Linked DNA regions of Homo sapiens: region 2 is linked to region 1. The links are contacts of gene promoters, found by promoter capture Hi-C in human tissues and cell types (Jung and others, 2019). All regions are on one chromosome and are shown on one strand. Each heading gives the region's core, a stretch centred on a gene start or on the middle of the fragment in contact. The rest is flanking DNA. Distances are from core to core; before and after follow the strand shown.

The links. The method cuts DNA at HindIII sites, captures the fragments that hold promoters and counts their contacts. A contact is called where the count stands out against the background at its distance.
Region 2: the fragment with the promoter of ATP1B2 here is called in contact with the fragment with the promoter of CHRNB1 in region 1 in 1 of the 25 tissues and cell types used here (bladder).

What each region holds. Positions count from the first base shown.
Region 1 is chr17:7,443,620-7,446,319 of GRCh38, forward strand. It overlaps CHRNB1 (cholinergic receptor nicotinic beta 1 subunit), which reads left to right and starts at 1,442. Exons shown (of 11, transcript NM_000747.3): 1 at 1,442-1,566; 2 at 1,651-1,790; 3 at 2,450-2,494. The coding sequence starts at 1,509. It overlaps FGF11 (fibroblast growth factor 11), which reads left to right. Exons shown (of 5, transcript NM_004112.4): 5 at 1-1,318. RefSeq lists a silencer at 1,514-1,563. The HindIII fragment of the contact is 9,790 bases long and covers 1-2,700 here.
Region 2 is chr17:7,649,481-7,652,180 of GRCh38, forward strand. It overlaps ATP1B2 (ATPase Na+/K+ transporting subunit beta 2), which reads left to right and starts at 1,446. Exons shown (of 7, transcript NM_001678.5): 1 at 1,446-2,150. The coding sequence starts at 2,039. RefSeq lists enhancers at 98-598, 599-1,099, 1,374-2,016 and a silencer at 1,356-1,505. The HindIII fragment of the contact is 20,754 bases long and covers 1-2,700 here.

The sequences.
Region 1 (2,700 bases), core at 192-2,691:
TGGAACACTGGACACCCTCGCCAGGGCCACTTCTGCACTAGGGCTCTGTGCTGGAACCCAGGCATGCTGCCAGCCTTTTCTCTGGATCTGTCAGGCCTCTGTCATTGACTCAGATGGACCCCTGGTTTCCAAGTAGAAAGAGGCTAGATTTGGGCCTTGTCTAGCTGTTGGCTTTGGCCTGAACCGGAACCAGTCTCAGATGACCACGGGTTTAACCTTCTTATCCCAGAGACACCCAATTCTAGAGCTTTATGGAGCCGTACTTCCCCCTGAATCCTAGCTCTAGGACATAGATCATGACTCTCAGCCCTTTTACCCAGGATGGAGCTGGGGCCTGTATAGCCATATTATTGTTCTAAGTAAGTTCTAGCCCCACCCTCCCGCCTTCTTGAGTGATACCTATTACGGATGAGTTCTGGAAAAGACCCAGCTATGATTCATAAAAACACTTCTGGATGAATCAAGAACCATTTCTTGTTTTTCCTAGATAATTCTCTAAAAATATGATTCTTCCATATAGAATGCTAAGCTTATTTTTACATGCAGTTTCTAGCTCCTTCAACCCAGCTGAGGTCGTGCCAGGGAGACAGAGTCTGGAGAAGGGCAGAGGAATTTTGGAAGGATCCCTGGCTCATAGTAGGGAAGCTGGGATGGGGGAGGGGTCAAAATTATGGCATGACTGAACCTGCATCTGTGTTGGGTGGACATGAATACTTAGCTACCTCAGCAGGAATTCCTTCCAGGTCCCCTTTAAAGCTGAGGTCCTTAGAGTAATATGTCCTTAATAAAAAGGACAAATGGATACAGCCTTGACCCTCCCAGTGAGGAGACCCCAATTCAGCAATAAGTCTCACCCTTCTCCCCTACAGGTCAGGCCAAGAAGGGTGAAGGCCTCTTGCACTCCAGACCTCATACGCCCCAACAGCTTCTAATTGGATAGAACTTGCTTTACCTTACAGCTCACAACCTCAGCTGGGTTTTAGGTACCCAAAAAGGGCCTGTCTAGATTTTTTCAGAAAAACGTGGAGTGCTAGGGGCAGCCTGGAAAAGATGGGGAACCTGCTAGTGAACTAGGAGGGAGACTTCCATAGCCTCAGACTTGGATAGGGTAGGCTGAGGGGGCCCTAAGGGAGGGACTAAGGCTCCAAGGCAGGTCACTTTTCCTTAGGCTGTTCTACTTCTGGCTTGTTGCAAGAGGAGTAGATGCCCCCTCACCCACACAAACCCCACTCAGTCTCCACCCAACTCCTGGCACTGCTCCCAGGGGATCGGGTCTCCACTCCAGCTTTCTCAATTAAAGACGATTTATACAACTGAAGTGCTGTCTGTCATCTGTCGGTGGCGGGCTTGGCAGTTGCTCGAGGCAGGATCAAGTCCCGGGGGCGGGGCGGGTGGGCTGGCGGCTGTCCTCCAGCAACAGGTGCACATTCCCGGGCTCCTCGTCACTTCCCCTGTGCTGGCGGTCCCAGCGGCTCTCTGAGCGAAGTCACTGAGCGAGCCGCCAGGCTATGACCCCAGGGGCTCTGCTGATGCTGCTGGGGGCGCTGGGGGCGCCGCTCGCCCCAGGTAAGTGTAGGCCCCGAAGGGGCAGTGACGGGGCCAGCGGTCGTGGCCAGGCACCAGGGCTGCACTTATTCTCTCCTCCCCCAGGCGTCCGCGGCTCGGAGGCGGAGGGTCGACTCCGGGAGAAACTTTTCTCTGGCTATGATAGCTCCGTGCGGCCAGCGCGGGAGGTGGGAGACCGTGTCAGGGTCAGCGTTGGTCTCATCCTGGCGCAACTCATCAGCCTGGTGAGGGCGCGCGGGGGGTGGAGGTCAGGCCAGCCGACCGGCCGGGGGCGTGGCTTTAGGCAAGGCCGGACCAGGGACAGGCTGGGGGCGGGGCCTGGGACGAGACCAGGCTGAGATGGACCAGCCTTTGGTGAAGATTGGATCGAAATCAGACCAATGGACAAGCTCTGGCCGTGGGTGGTGGACGGGCCTGGAGTAGAACTGGGTAGGGTGAAGGACGGACCTGTGATCGGACCTTAAAGTGGGGCTGGGGACGAGGCAGGGGCTGGGGGACGGACCTCGACGTAGGGCCACATGAGTCCTGAGTGCCCAGGGTGGGGCGGAGCTTGGTGCTCAGGGGTCAATAAATGGCAGCGGGTGGAGGTTCGGGGCTGGGTGGATTATGAGCTGAAGGCAGGGCCGGGGACAGAGCTAGGCGGAGGGCTAGGCAGGGGCGGGTCTGGTAGGTTGATAGGCTGGGAGTGTAGACGGCAGGAAGAGGTGTTTCTGAGATAGAGGCAGGTCTTAAACTAACGCCGCTTCTGGGAGGTGGACTTGGACCCGAGAGGATGGGGCTCAGAAAAAGGGGGCGGCGTTCCCAGGAGAGAGGTTGGCCCCCCGAGCCCCCTCATTTCTCTCCACCCTACTTCACCTTTACGCCTTAAATTTTTCCCTTCTAGAACGAGAAGGATGAAGAGATGAGCACAAAGGTGTACTTAGACCTGGTATGGAGACCCCACGGGGTGGGAAAGGGCTTCCCTCTGCCTTGACAATTTCCTTGAATATCCAGCCCAGTAAGAATATTTTTTACATCATGACTTTAGATAACACGTTTATAACTGAAGCAAAAGCTCGAAGAAACAACACTTAACTTTACTACAGGAGTTACACCCCATGCATTTTTAATTCCAATTTTGTGTGTGTGTGTGTG
Region 2 (2,700 bases), core at 196-2,695, 210 kb after region 1:
GGGTTCAAGCAATTCTCCTGCTTCAGCCTCCTGAGTAGCTGGGACTACAGGCACCCACCACCATGCCCAGCTAATTTTTTTTTTTTTTTTTATTGAGACGGAAGCTCTGTTGCCCAGGCTGGAGTGCAGTGGAGCGATCTCGGCTCACTGCAAGCTCCGCCTCCCGGGTTCATGCCATTCTCCTGCCTCAGCCTCCCAAGTAGCTGGGACTACAAGCTCCCGCCACGACGCCCAGCTAATTTTTTTTTTTTGTATTTTTAGTAGGGACGGGGTTTCACTGTGTTATCCAGGATGGTCTCGATCTCCTGACCTCGTGATCCACCCACCTCGGCCTCCCAAAGTGCTGGGATTACTGGCGTGAGCCACCGCGCCTGGCCTAATTTTGCATTTTTAAGTAGAGACGGGGTTTCACCATGTGGGCAAGGCTAGTCTCGAACTCCTGACTTCGTGATCTGCCCGCCTCGGCCTCCCAAAATGCTGGGATTACAGGCATAAGCCACCGTGCCCGGCTTGAGATAATGATTCTTAACATGTGGTATGTAGAGCAAGTGTACTCCCGCCCTAGACTGTGAGCCCCGTGAGAGATGTGGCTTCAGTGTAACCTCTCTGGCCTCCCCAGGGCTACAGCACACAGTCTATAGAGGTGCTCAATAAATGTTTGTTGACCCAAGTAGACACATAAGGAGGTGAGTTCCGACGTGGGGGTGGGGGTGCCAGGAGGCAGAGAACCGAAGTAGACCTGGCTGCAGGGCTGGGATCTCAGGGCAGTGCTGGGGACTGGGAATGTGGTGTTGAGAGGGCTTCAGGGAGACGTGATGGGAAGATGGGGAAGCCTCTGCACGTGGACAGAGCCAGGTGGTGTGGACAGGGGCTGTGAGATTGGAGAAGGAGGCGTCTGGGGGACTGGTAGCGGCTCCCAACAGGGGAACGTCCCTCTGGGGGTGGCCTTTATCCATCTCTGCGGGGCCTGTCCTAGCTTCCCTCCTGGCTCGGCCAGCCTCCCGGCTGGTCTCTTCGCTCTCTTTCTTGATCTCTAGCTCTTTATTCCTCTGACATTCTGCCCCATCTGCTCCCGGACTCTTCCGCCGCATCTGTATCTTAGTCTCTTTCTAACTCCCTGCCTGGGGCCCCCACCTTTGAGCATATATCGGCTTCTCTCTCTGCCGTTGTGTTTCTCTGGGGTTATCTTTCCCTCTACTCCGCCCGGACACGCCCTCTATCTCTTCCTCCCACCCTGTCCCAGTCTAGTACCTGGGGTGGGGGTAATGGAGAGACAGCTAGGTCCCTAAGAGAAGTCAGGGGGGCGGGCCCAACCTCTCCATATTTACATATGTATGAGGTCGCCTGGGCCAGTGGCGAGGAGGCGGAGCTTCTGGGGGTGGGAAGGGGGCGGGCACCCCCAGAGCCGCAGAGTATAAAGACCGCGCTCGGCGACCGCGGGCCTCGCACTGCTGAGGAGCGGAGCCTCCGCCTGGGGGGCCCCCCATCCCTGGCTGTCCCCCAGCTGCGCGTCCCCGCCCCACCCCCGCGGCTGAGCCACCACCGGTGCAGTGGTCTCCGCTTGGCGGAGCGAGCCTTGAGCTTCGTTCCACAGCTTCTTTGCATCTTGGATTTCGGGGCGGCCCCCTCCCCCACCTCTCTCTGCCTTTTTGTACCCCGCTTTTTTTCTGCGTTCTGCTCGGTTTTTGTAGCCGTCTGTTTTTGCACCCCATTTCGTTTTGTTTCTAGACGGTTTGGTGGGGGGTGAAGCTGCATTCATACCCCTTCCTCTTGTTATTCTCCCCTGCTCTGACAGCACCCCTTTTCATCGCAGTTGGGGGGCCTAGGATCGGTGCATCTTCCGCCGCGCTGCCAGCACCCCGCAGCGCGTGGTCGTGCACCCCGGAATCTGCAGCAGCTGCATATCTGAGGGGGGTCTCCTTTGCCCGCGCCGCCTTCGCTCCCCGTGCTTTTGGGTGTGTGGAGGGCTTCAGCGCGCGGCGCCCCCGCTTCTCCGCAACCCCCCGCCCCGCGCCCGGACTCGCCCCGCGCCACCAAGATGGTCATCCAGAAAGAGAAGAAGAGCTGCGGGCAGGTGGTTGAGGAGTGGAAGGAGTTCGTGTGGAACCCGAGGACGCACCAGTTTATGGGCCGCACCGGGACCAGCTGGGGTACGCAGGGCCGGCACGCAAGGGGCGGGGGAAAGCCGCGGGGCGACGCCTCGGGGGCGCAGGGTCCCGCCGACGCGGCCCCAGCTCCCCTCCCGGGTCCCCGGCGTCCAGCCTCCCTGCCGGGCTCTGGGCTGGGAGGGGGCCGAATCGCCAGTCTAATCTCCCCGGCTGGCCGTGCGGAGGCGGAGAAAGTAGGTCACAGCCGCCTTCCCGCCCCCCGCGGAGCCCCCTCGGGCGGGGGGTCGCCAGCTCCGCCTGCGTGTCCGCGCCGGCGCTCACACTCCCTCTCGGGGCCTGTCCGCTCCACACGGGCGTCCCCCACCTCCAAAGAGCGCCCCTTCCCTCCCTCCGGCTCTCACTAGCTCCGCAGCCCCGTCTATTTTTAGCTCGTGCCCACCCCCTGGACCCTGGGAACGTTCATGAGGGGGCGGGTCTTGGGGGGTGTGTTAGGGGGGTTCTTCACGGCGGAAGTTGTCTGTATCCCACCGCCTGGCCTTGGGAGCCTTCTGGGACTGCTTTGTGGGTTGGGGGGCTGCTGATAGTATGAGTT